Regions from separate parts of the Homo sapiens genome. Here region 1 is linked to region 2. Evidence: promoter capture Hi-C in human tissues and cell types (Jung and others, 2019). All regions are on one chromosome and are shown on one strand. The core of a region is centred on a gene start or on the middle of the fragment in contact, and the rest is flanking DNA. Distances in the headings are between cores, read along the strand shown. Region 1 has its middle 30 kb from the start of LINC01944. Region 2 holds the start of NEURL1B (neuralized E3 ubiquitin protein ligase 1B).

Region 1 (5,205 bases), core at 940-3,439, 52 kb after region 2:
TAGATAAGAAAGATCTGTTATAATTAGAGTAGCCAAAAGCTTTAGATTTGTCCAAATTGGGGCAAACCCCATTCACAAAAAAGCAGTTACAAAATAAAACCACTCAGGTTATATAATATCATGAAGAAAGAACCTTCAGGAGAAACCTTCATGAAATGGTGTCATGAGCAGATATCCTCTGCAGATGAAGCATTCGGAGCAAAGGATTGCAAAAAATGCTCATGTCAAGTCATTCAGCAGCAGCAAGGGATGTGAATGAACAAATGTCCTTTCGAGGAAAAGATCAAGGCTGTGAACAAATCTAAATGAATCCATTTGGTTGGGGGCAATAACAGGGGCCTTATTTATTTATTTATTTATTTATTTATTTATTTATTTATTGAGAGAAGATCTTGCTCTGTCACCCAGGCTGGCATGTAGTGACACGATCATGGCTCACTGTAGCTTCAACCTCCTGGGCTCAAGCAATCCTCTTACCTCAGCCTCCCAAGTAGCTGGGATCACAGGTACGTGCATCACAACCAGCTAATTATTTTTTATTTTTTGTAGAGATGAGGTCTCACCATGTTTCTCAAGCTGGCCTTGAACTCCTGGGCTCAAGTGATCCTCCCACCTTGGCCTCCCAAAGCATTTGGATTACAGGCATGAGCCACTGCACTGGGCCTAATGCAACAGATAGAATGCATAGGAAGTCCTAAAAAGGGGTGTGCCCAGCAACATAATGGGTGAAAGATGCACCCAAGTCTCACAAACCAGGCTCCTGAGTCATCTACCATTGGCTGGTATCTGCAGGCTCAGGCAGCCTGGGAAGTAAACTTCAATTCTTTGGTTGGGTAAATAAAATCCTAGCCCCAGGAAGAAACTAGAAATAACAAGAGATAGTAAATGAAAATAAGAATAGAAGTAATAAAAAGACAAGTTGAAATCCATGATGTTGGTCCTGCTATCACCAGTTATGGTGAAAGTGTTCTTGTCAGCTTTATCGTTATATAATTGTCTACTTTTCAAGATATTTAAAGCACTTACGAGAATTTGAAATAATAGATGTGTGAAGAGCTTATTTGGTTAAGTTTGTAATCAAAGCTTAAATGCTTGGGAACATCTAATTTATTAAATTCATAAGTTTTAAGAACTCAGCAGCTTAATTATTAGAATGTTAAATTTTTTGAGGAGTATTAATTATGGGAAATGAAAAATTAGACGTTGGGCAATGTACAAAATTGTAAGACTATTTCTTTCCGTGCACATTCCCTTGGAGTTCAAGAAATTGTCAATAGTTGGAAAAAAATGAAAAAAATTTAATAGCTGAAAAAGATGCAAAAAATCAACCCTACTTCATGCTGGGAAGAGTGCAGGGAACTGAGACTCTCATATCCCATTGGTGAGAGCATTGTTGCTGCATGTTAGTTTGATCCTAAGTATCAATACTCAAAAGGACCTCACCGTGTGAGGCAGCCACCACACTTCCAGGGTATACAACATGTAAAACAATCATGGTGTACCATCAGTTCTCATTGTTTGTGCCAGTCATGTTCTTTAAAGTTGCTGGGAACACCGAATTAGCAAACATCAAGGCACTGCTCCCAGGGGAAATACAGGGTTAGGGTCCTTTCAGCCTCTGGTCACAACACACTTGTCGAGTGATCAATACACCACCTCGTTGTATGTGTGTTTCTGTTCAAAGACACCTTATTTAGTGTATATTGCAGATTCATTCACGTTGAACTCATGGCCATCACTCAAACCTGAATGAAGCTTCTCTAACATGTCTTTCCTCCATAAGGCTCATCGCAGCCTTCTTGTGCCTAGGGTCACTAGACAGCACGTCAGCTCTGTGCTTGGGGCCATTTTAACAGTGACATCACCAACAAAAAGCACAAAAAATGGTGGCACTAAATACACTGCAAAAGGACGCTAATTTCCAGTGCGAGAGCTGACACAGGAAGGCAGAGCCTGGCCTCGCTCCACCTCGTCTGGGAAGTGCCCATTGGGTGAGGCAAGCTTTTGACTGCTCTGTGCGTATCTGAGAACGACTGTCAAAGTGCAGCAAATATTGCTTTTGGGGTTACAAATAAATTTAAGCAAGTAGGCACATTTGCCAAAAGGAATCTACGAAAAATGAGGATGGACTGTGTGTCAAAAAGATGTTAATGGCGACATTGTAATAATCAAACCATTTGGCTACTGGATAAGGTCTAAATGCTAATTAGTGGGACATTGGTTAGATCAGCACCATTGACATTTGGGACCAGGTAATTCTTCATTAGAGGGAGCTGTCCTGTCAATTGTAGGATGTTTAGCAACATCTCTGACCTCTACCCACTAGATGCCAGTAGCACCCCGCCCCTCAAGTTGTGACAATCAAAAATGTCTCCAGATGCTGCCAAGTAAGAACCTTGGGTCAGATAAACTAGGAGGCAGCCGTGCAATGGACTGCTGTGTCGCCTTTAAACCGCATGATGTCTAAATAGCTTGGGAAGATTCCCGTGACATTTTTGAGTAGAAAAAAAAAGACAGGTGGCAAAACTGGATGTATAATAAGATTCCATTTTTACATCTGAGTGTATTTGCATGCACACACGTAGAAGAAAGAGAAGAGAAAAGGTGAAAGCTTTTCTGACTTCCTGCTGCACGGGTGCATCTGAGGCCTTCACACCAATGAAATCTTGAGTTTTTCGGAGTCCACGGGAGACACAGATTTGAGGGCCACGAGCACTTCCTGCTTGGACTCAGACCCCTGCTGGGAAGGGTTTGGGATCTGGAGTCAGGCCCCACCTCCAGCTGGTGCTCCTGGCAGCCCCTTGCCTGGCATGGAGGACCTCTCTGACGCCGGCTGTCCACTGCACGGCTGGGATCAGCGCTCTTCCCTAGGGATAGGACCCTGGTCCCTACTGCCAGCCCCTAACTGGGATTGCCCTCAATAGGTCACAAGCCCTGGCACTGTGCCCCACTCCCTTGCTCCCCCAGCTAAGCCCCATCTCCAGCCTGAGTCCCTGGTTCATCTAGACAGTTCCTCTGCATAGCAGAATGCCTTGCTAGGTCCTCTACCATCTTCTGGGGTGTGGGTAGAGATCAACCCAGCTGTACCCCAGTGGACAGCAGCAGCAGCTGTGTGGGTTTTACCCCAGTCTCAGCATCCTCCAACTGCCCCCATCAGACATAATGGGCTCTGGAGTTGGACAAACCTGGACACAAATCCTGTCTTGGGCATGTACCACCTGTATGGCTTTGAGCAACTTATTGTTCTTTCCTGAGCTTCATTCTCCTCATCTGCGAAACAGACTCCTCTCAAAGCTATGAGGAGGGTTAGCTGAGCTAATGGGAGTGAAGAATGCAGCACAGTGCATAGTTTCTCCCGAATCAATGGTAGCTCATGGGGTTTCCACTTGGGGTGATGAAAAGTTCTGGAACTGGATAGTAGGCATTGTATGACATTGTGCATGTCTTTAATGCCACTGAACTGTACACTTTAACACAGTTGAGAGGGCAATTTTTATGTTATATGCATTTTACTACAATCGATCAATCAATCAGTCAATCAGTCAGTCAGTCCATCAGTGGCAGCTTCCTTCCCATCTATTCCAGAGCTCTTTATGCTTTGGCCTATCCAGGTTTAATATTTTCATGTCTTTGCCTACTCTTCCACATCCAGATACTCCTTAGAAAAGTGCTCTGACCTTAGAGTTGAGACATCTTGTCTTTTCCTCTTCTTGGAAGGCTCAGAACCCCAGAGACCTTCCATAGAGCAGGCCAGGGAAGGGAGGGACCAGAGGAGACAGGGCTGACCATCCCCCATGATTCGAGCTCCGTAACTATAGTTGGCACCTGGGAGGGAGGAACAACTGGCCCAGGAGTTTGGAAGGAATCCTTCATCTCTCTGGGGTGTTGGGGGTCAGCAGCTGAGGCCCTCCTCGGTCTGTAGCTAAGCCTGGACTGGTGAGCTCCCCCACTCAGCCTCCTCGACCACAAGCCCCTCAGGGCAACCTGCTCGCTCTAAATTCATCATCACCCCTATCCCAGCTGCCTCTTCCCTTTTCTGGGATTCCAAAACCGGGGAGCAGCACCTAAGTCTATTCAGCTGTCCAAGCCAGAGACCCAGAGCCCAGAACCCTCCTTCTCCCCACTTCTGACTTTCCTCCAGACACTCAGGAGCCCAGAATTCTCTGCCCAAACTTCCAGGGCCCGCACAGAGGACCGAGTTCCACCTCCTGAGAGTGGACTGCACCACTGATGTGTGCATCAAGCTGCCTCCAGAGGGTGGGAGATGGGGTCCAGGCCCCGCCTCCTGCTCAGGAAGGCTGGGTGGCGAGGGCTGGAGGAAACAAGCACATCTTTTTGCCCGAGGACGGATGATGGAAGTGTGGGCTAGGTCCACTGTGTGTGTGTTGCCGGGGGGGCAAAGAGAGGGGTGAGCCTGCTTCCACTCCCCAGAAACAGAGGGGTGAGCCTGCTTCCACTCCCCAGAAACAGACGGGTGAGCCTGCTTCCACTCCCCAGAGGGGACTTGTTTCCTCCAGCCCCCACCACCCAGCCTTCCTGCGCAGGAGGCAGGGCCTGGGCCCCATCCCGCACCCTCCAGAGGGCAGCTTTCCGTCACTCCCTAAGTGTTTAATCCCATGTTCCCAGTACATCTGCCACACCACTTCTCTCTGTGCCTTCTGTGGTGTGGAGCCAGGGCTTCCAACCAGTGAGGCCTGAGGCTTAGCTTGATGCCAACTAGGAGGTCTCCTGCTAAGAAAGAGAACGAGGGCGGTCGATCTGGCCAGCAGGGCTGAAGTGGAGCCACCCAGGGCAAGGCCCACACCTCAGCTTCCTCTGGAGACCAGAGAGCAGCTGCTGGACCTCAGATCTTACTCCGCCTTCCCCAGCCTCGCTCTTCCTCATACAACTGGTCAAGCCGCACCCCACCCCATCCCCAGCCCCCACCCTTACTCGCCCCCTGGCTCCCCAATCTCTCTGCCCTGGTCAACCTCTCCCAGCCATCCTCCACCCTGCAGCCGGAATGAGCTCTCCAAAACGCAAGCTTTCTCCGTGCTGACAGTGCCAGGGGCTCCAATCGCTGTCTGGATAACGCCCAGATTCCTCGCAGGACCCAGCTGACACCTCCCACCTCGCCCTGCCTCACTGTTTGCTATAGCAAACAGCTCACGTTTTCCTTCTCAGGGCGAGCCGGTTCCTACTTTTGTGCCCTTGCATGACACCTCC
Region 2 (5,702 bases), core at 672-3,171:
AGACACTGCAGTGGGTAACCAACCTTAACTGCCGGCTCCCAGACTAGGGTGGCCCAGTCCACAGAGAGAGAGTTGAGAGGGATGGAGAATACATAAATCTCTAGCTATATTTAGCCTGCCTGGCGTGTGTCTGTCCCTTTACGCACCCCAGGGCTGACCCACAGGTGGCAGAATGGCTTTTTACTAGAATAGTATAAACATTTTTAAATTAAGAAACCAAGGAAAGGGGCCTGTGCCGAGGTGCCTCATCCCAGTGTCTATGTGGCGAGAATATCTGCTGCCCTATTTGCCAACATCCCCAGATATCTCCTGACCCGCGGGTGGGTTCTCCCCCAACCTGGCAATAGCCCTGTCCACAGGAGGTAGAGGCCACCCTCCAGTAAGCAGACCTGGGTTCTAATCCCACCTCTGCCACTGACTAGCTGGTGACTCTGCTGATGATTACAGCTCTCTGGGAATTTGAACGTTTGAGTGCAGTTGCTCAGAGGCTTGTAAAGTAGGAGTTGGCTCCTCTTCCATAAGCTGACCCTGGGAATCCTGGGCTCAGCACTGTCCACTTCAACCCGCTCCAGGGGAAATTATTCTTTAAGAGCATGTAATGCCTAGAAGGGAGAGCTATATGGGAGTGTTATAGCAGAGATGGGGTGATATGTCCCTCTTCCAGAACCTCACACTAAATTAACCTCACAGCTGACTTGCTTCCCCATTGAGCCGAGCCTTTGTGCTTTAGACACACACACACTCCTCTCACCTTTTGCCCAAAGGATGCTACAAAGGCCCAGCCTTAAGACAAAATACTTCTAAATACTTGGGCGTGTGAGGGGAGGGAGGGCAGAGAGACACAGGTCCCACTCCAGATTCTCCCACTACTAGCTGTGTGACCTTGGGTGAGTCATTTCACCTCTTCTGACACTCAATTTTTTTATTTGTAAAACTGGGATACACATCTTTATCGCGAAGCTTCTTTGCATACCGAGCTGGGGTATGCAAAGTGCTGGGCACTGAACCTCCACGGGCACGCGCGGGCGCGGGACCGCTGATCTGTTCCCACAATTACCATGTATTTTCCAGTAAGGCCTCCTCCTACCCCGTTAACCTGCTCCGGATCCCCTCACTCCGGTCCCAGAAATTCTGGGGCGATTTTAACTAGGGGGCGATGCGATCTGCAGCAGCGACTCCGAGGGGGCGAAGGAGTCCCCAGTGGAGCGGACACCAGAGGGGGGCGCAACCGGGGTGCGCGTGGGAACGTGGCCAAAGCACGGCAGCATGTGCCGCGGGGGCGCTGGGAGGCTGGAAACTGGGGTGCCCCTGAGAGCACCCCTCACTCTCGGCAGCTGCAGTCTTGGCACCACGGGTGGCTTCTGACCGTCGGAAGCCCTGGCGAGCCCGGCTCCAGTCACCCCCACCCAGGTCGCCTTGAGTTTGCTCATCAGCGCCCTCGGGCTGGAACAAAGGCGAGGGGGCGCGCGGCATCGCCCCAGCGGCCCTTTTTGCGCATCTGGCCAAAGCCGGGAGAATGAGGACTGGGGTCCCCAAGGTAACCAGGACGCGGTACCCGCCCTCCCGGGGCGCAAAGCCCAGCCGCGGGGCGCGCGCCGAGCTGAGGTCCGGGAGGTACCGGAGACTCCAGCCCGCTGCGAGCCGAGGGCTCCAAGGGCCGTGGGGTAGCTCTCCAGAGTCACCCAGCGGGTCCCCCGGAGGAGAGAAGCCCGGCGCCCGCCTCCCGGGCAGGGCTCCCCGGCGTACCTGGCAGGGTCCGGTGCACCGTGTTGCCCATCGCTGCGTCGGGCGCGGCGTTGGCGGCGGCGCGCTCTGGGCGCGCGGAGGCTAATTACGCGGCGGGCCAGGGACCAGGACCGGGGTCGACGCTCCGGGGCATCGCAGCTGCACGGGCGAGCCGGCGGGCGGCAGCTGGGGCGGGAGCCGGGAGGGAGGCGGCGGCGGCGCCTGCGGGAGGAGGAGGCGGAGCCACCGGCCCGGGCCCGCCGGCTCCGCCCCCGCCTCCCACCGCCTCCAACAGTGCAGGGGCGGGGCCGCGGCCGCCGCATCTTTTGAAAGTTTGCACCAGGCGGCGGGAGAAGCACAGCCAAGCCTCCCGCCCTCGCCGCTCCCGCGCCCGGGCCGGGAAGGCGCGCAGGGCAGCTGGGTGCCCTCGGGTGCCAGGATCGGCAGTCTGCTGGCCTGTCACCCATTTGTTCTAACACTTTGAGAAGGCCCACTGTGTGCCAGGCCCTCTTCCAGGCGCGGGGCCCCAGCCGGCCGAGTCCTAGCCCCGGCAGACCTCTTTGGAGAGTGCTTCGGCCCCGGGGGAACTTACACAGAGGCAGACGGGCCCCTGGGACCATGTAAAGGGCTTGGAGACAGTACACCCAGGGTTCCCGGGTTTGGGTGGAGTCTTTTCTATCCCCTAGGCCAGGTACCGAGGAATAGAAGAAACCCAGTGTCCAAAGATTGGGAAGAGGGAACCCACATTCATTAATTTATTCGCTCATTCACTAAAATATTTATTGAGCACAGTCTATGCACCAGGCACTGTGCTGGGCCGGGTAGATACAGACAAGGTCCCCACTGCCCTGGAGATGGCATGCTGAAGATAGAAATAACAAGCAATTACGATCACATTATATAATAATCAAAGCCAGGAAGAAAATAAAACAGATCCCAGTAGAGTGAGGAGATGACATTGTTTGGGGGCATAGGGAGAATCTGGGGTGGGGGCACATAAGCTCCATCTGATGGACTAGAAGGCGTCGGCCATGAGAAGAGATAGGTAGAGTGTTCCTGGCAGAGGCAGTAACAGGCATTCCTCATTCAGGCACCTGGACCACACTCAGTGGGAAGTGCAGCTGTGCCCTTCTCGAGCTCCATTTCACAGGCTGGAACGCTGAGGCCCAGGAAGTGCAATGACTTCCCCAAGAAGACCCGATTCCAAATGAGCTGTTTTTTTCAATTCTATTTTTCATGCTCTTGTATCCCTTGAGACTTTATGAAATATGTATTATTACTTCCATTTCACAGATAGGGAAATTGAGGCTCTGAGAGTGGAAGAGAGGTGCCCAAGATCTTCCAATGGTACAGGGCAAAGCTAGCCTGAAGCTATGCGAATAAAAGCGGGGTATTCAGGAGACAGCCTTCTGCATCTCCGGTGCCTTCTGCTTACAGTACATGACCCATCCCAGAGGGTTCTAGGGTCTTTAAGGCCAGCTCCAAGCTTCCACTTCCGGGAAACCTTGATTCCCCACTCCCCCCTGACGTCATATGTCTGAACATAAGATTGCCTTGCATTTGAGTTACTAATTTCTCATATTACAGGTGCTCGCCCAGTGACTTAATTTTTAACCCCAAAGTTCTGTTTGAGAAAGGTCCGTTAGCGTGATCCTTTTTTTTTTTCTTTTTTTTTTTGAGACAGAGTCTCACTCTGTCACCCAGGCTGGAGTGGAATGGCACAATCTTGGCTCACTGCAACCTCTGCCTACCAAGTTCAAGCAATTCTCCTGCCTCAGCCTCTTGAGTAGCTGGGATTACAGGCACCCACTACCACGCCCCGCTAATTTTTGTATTTTTAGTAGAGATGGGATTTCATCATGTTGGCCAGGCTGGTCTCAAACTTCTGACCTCAAGCGGTTCCCCCACCTCAGCCTCCCAAAGTGCTGGGATTACAGGCCTAAGCCACCTCACCTGGCTGATCCTCCTTTAATCTATGTGACATTGGGTTGCATATGGAGGTCAGCAATATTATAAAGGGAATTGAGGGAATTTTCCTCAGATAAGGCAATGCAAACAAATATGACTTTGTGACGGCAAGGGTGAGAGGTTGTGAACAGGCCTTTTAAAGGCCACTTTCAGAGTACCTCAGTAAGTGGCCATGTTGTGCAGATCACAAATACTCACCTGCAGCAAATGAATCCCTACTGTCAAAATGTGATGCGGATTGGACCTGCGGTGGAGACACTGTGCCCAGCAGTTGCCTGACATGTGGATTCGAAAGGGCTGTGTGTTAGCCTCTGGATCTCTGAGAGTAGGACCTGCTCTAGTAAAAAGCTGCCCCCAACACACACGATGGTGACACTAGTGTCAAAGCCACACAGAAAAGAATTAGAATCAAATTGTTTCCTGAAATTTGAAACTGCCAAAAGCAATCTTTCCATATTAGTATTCTCTATGAGAATAATTGCAAATATGTTTATATAACTAAAGTAATAAATGAAATATTTCAAGTAGATGTCTATTTCATCTTCACCCCATTAAGTTTATATTATTCAATAAGAAAGTGCATCTTCTCATAGGGAGAATGGGGATTGCCTGTAATCTTTACTTGGATTACCTTATATTTGGGCACATACAGCAGTTGCTCACCCATCTGAGATCCCTCTGCACTTTGTGCTGTCCCCTCAATTACACCCTCAAGACAGGTGTTGTAGCTGTTACCTTTGCGTCCTCTCCACTGCCAGACAGGATGCTCCTGCAGGCAGGAAGAAGGCTGTAATCATCTAGGAAACCCCAGTGCCCAGAACAGGGCTGGCAGACACAGGTGCTCAATACACATTTGCATAAATTGACTGCAGAGATGCATTGCCCTGAGCTGAGAGAAAAACAGAAAAGAAGGAGAGAGGGAAGAAAGAAGGAATGGAGAAAGGTAATAAGAAGGGAGAGGAGAGAAAGAGCTGTGAGAGAATGAGTTTTTGCCATTAGTAGCCCTAGACCCTGGTGTGATGAATAGTAATATGTGCAGGGAAAAATAAGCAAATGAGCAAAATAGGGATGCATTAACAGAAATATAGTCTTTAGGACAAAGGAGGGGCTTGCTGCTCCAGTGCATGTTGGTTAGACCATTCCAGAAGTCGCTTTGGCTCTGGGCACCACACTAGAGAAGGAGGACAAAGCTAGTCCACGAAGGTGGAAGGGTGGCTTTGGGAGAGAGGGAGATCCCTGTCCCAGGAGGTGTGCAAATAGAAACCATATATTTCCTGCCAGGCAGTTGAGGAGGGGCTTCCTGAGTCACATGTCTTCTAAAGTATACCTTCCAGTACAATCATCCACTGAGCCCCTACAACCCACATGAAGCCATGGGGGTGATTTATGGTTTGAGGTTTATGAGTCTGATTGGTCCTGCCTCTACTGACCCTGAGAGGACTGCAGAGGTGCTCCCCTGTCTTTGCAGCTTGTGTACCAAGCTGATCTCCTGGGATGTGGGCCTCCCATTTTTGTTGCCTCTCCCAATCTCACCTCTTCCCACTAGCTCCCAAGCAGGGCTGGCCGGGACACTGTGGAAATGCTGTCTGCATGTATTAGGGGCCTGGGATCCAGGCACTATGTCTAACAGCAACAAGGGAAGGGAAGGGACTGTTGGACTCAGCACCTGCCGCACAGGAGACTTTATAACCACAGGGATGGAATGTGAATCTCTTCCTTCTCCAAATATTATAGTCATACCACATCCAAGGAGATAGGTTCTAGCATCCCCATTTTCCAAACGAGGACACCAAGCCTCAGACAGGTAAAGTCACATGCCTAAGTCTCTGCAGCTGCTAAGAGGAGTTGGGATGTGAACCTACGTGTGCCCATATCCAAGCCTCATCTTCTAAGCAGTGTCCCTTAAAGTTAGAGAGGACAGCTCTGCCCAGGCGCCAAGGCGGCAGGACACCAGGGCTGCAGAGGAACGGGTGGGGTCTCAGAACCAGAACCCGCAGACACTAACGGCT

The links. Contacts are between HindIII fragments. The study calls those that stand out against the background at their distance.
Region 1: a contact is called between a fragment that was not itself captured here and the fragment with the promoter of NEURL1B in region 2, in 10 of the 25 tissues and cell types used here (H1 embryonic stem cells, IMR-90 fibroblasts, bladder and 7 more).

The regions. Positions count from the first base shown.
Region 1 is chr5:172,586,249-172,591,453 of GRCh38, reverse strand. No RefSeq gene overlaps it. Among named protein-coding and RNA genes, the nearest start is that of LINC01944, 30 kb to the right of the region's middle. The HindIII fragment of the contact is 3,256 bases long and covers 562-3,817 here.
Region 2 is chr5:172,637,482-172,643,183 of GRCh38, reverse strand. It overlaps NEURL1B (neuralized E3 ubiquitin protein ligase 1B), which reads right to left and starts at 1,921. Exons shown (of 5, transcript NM_001142651.3): 1 at 1,747-1,921. The coding sequence starts at 1,777. It overlaps LOC107986478 (a long non-coding RNA gene), which reads right to left. Exons shown (of 3, transcript XR_001742996.2): 3 at 4,706-5,702. RefSeq lists a silencer at 1,870-2,159. The HindIII fragment of the contact is 6,548 bases long and covers 462-5,702 here.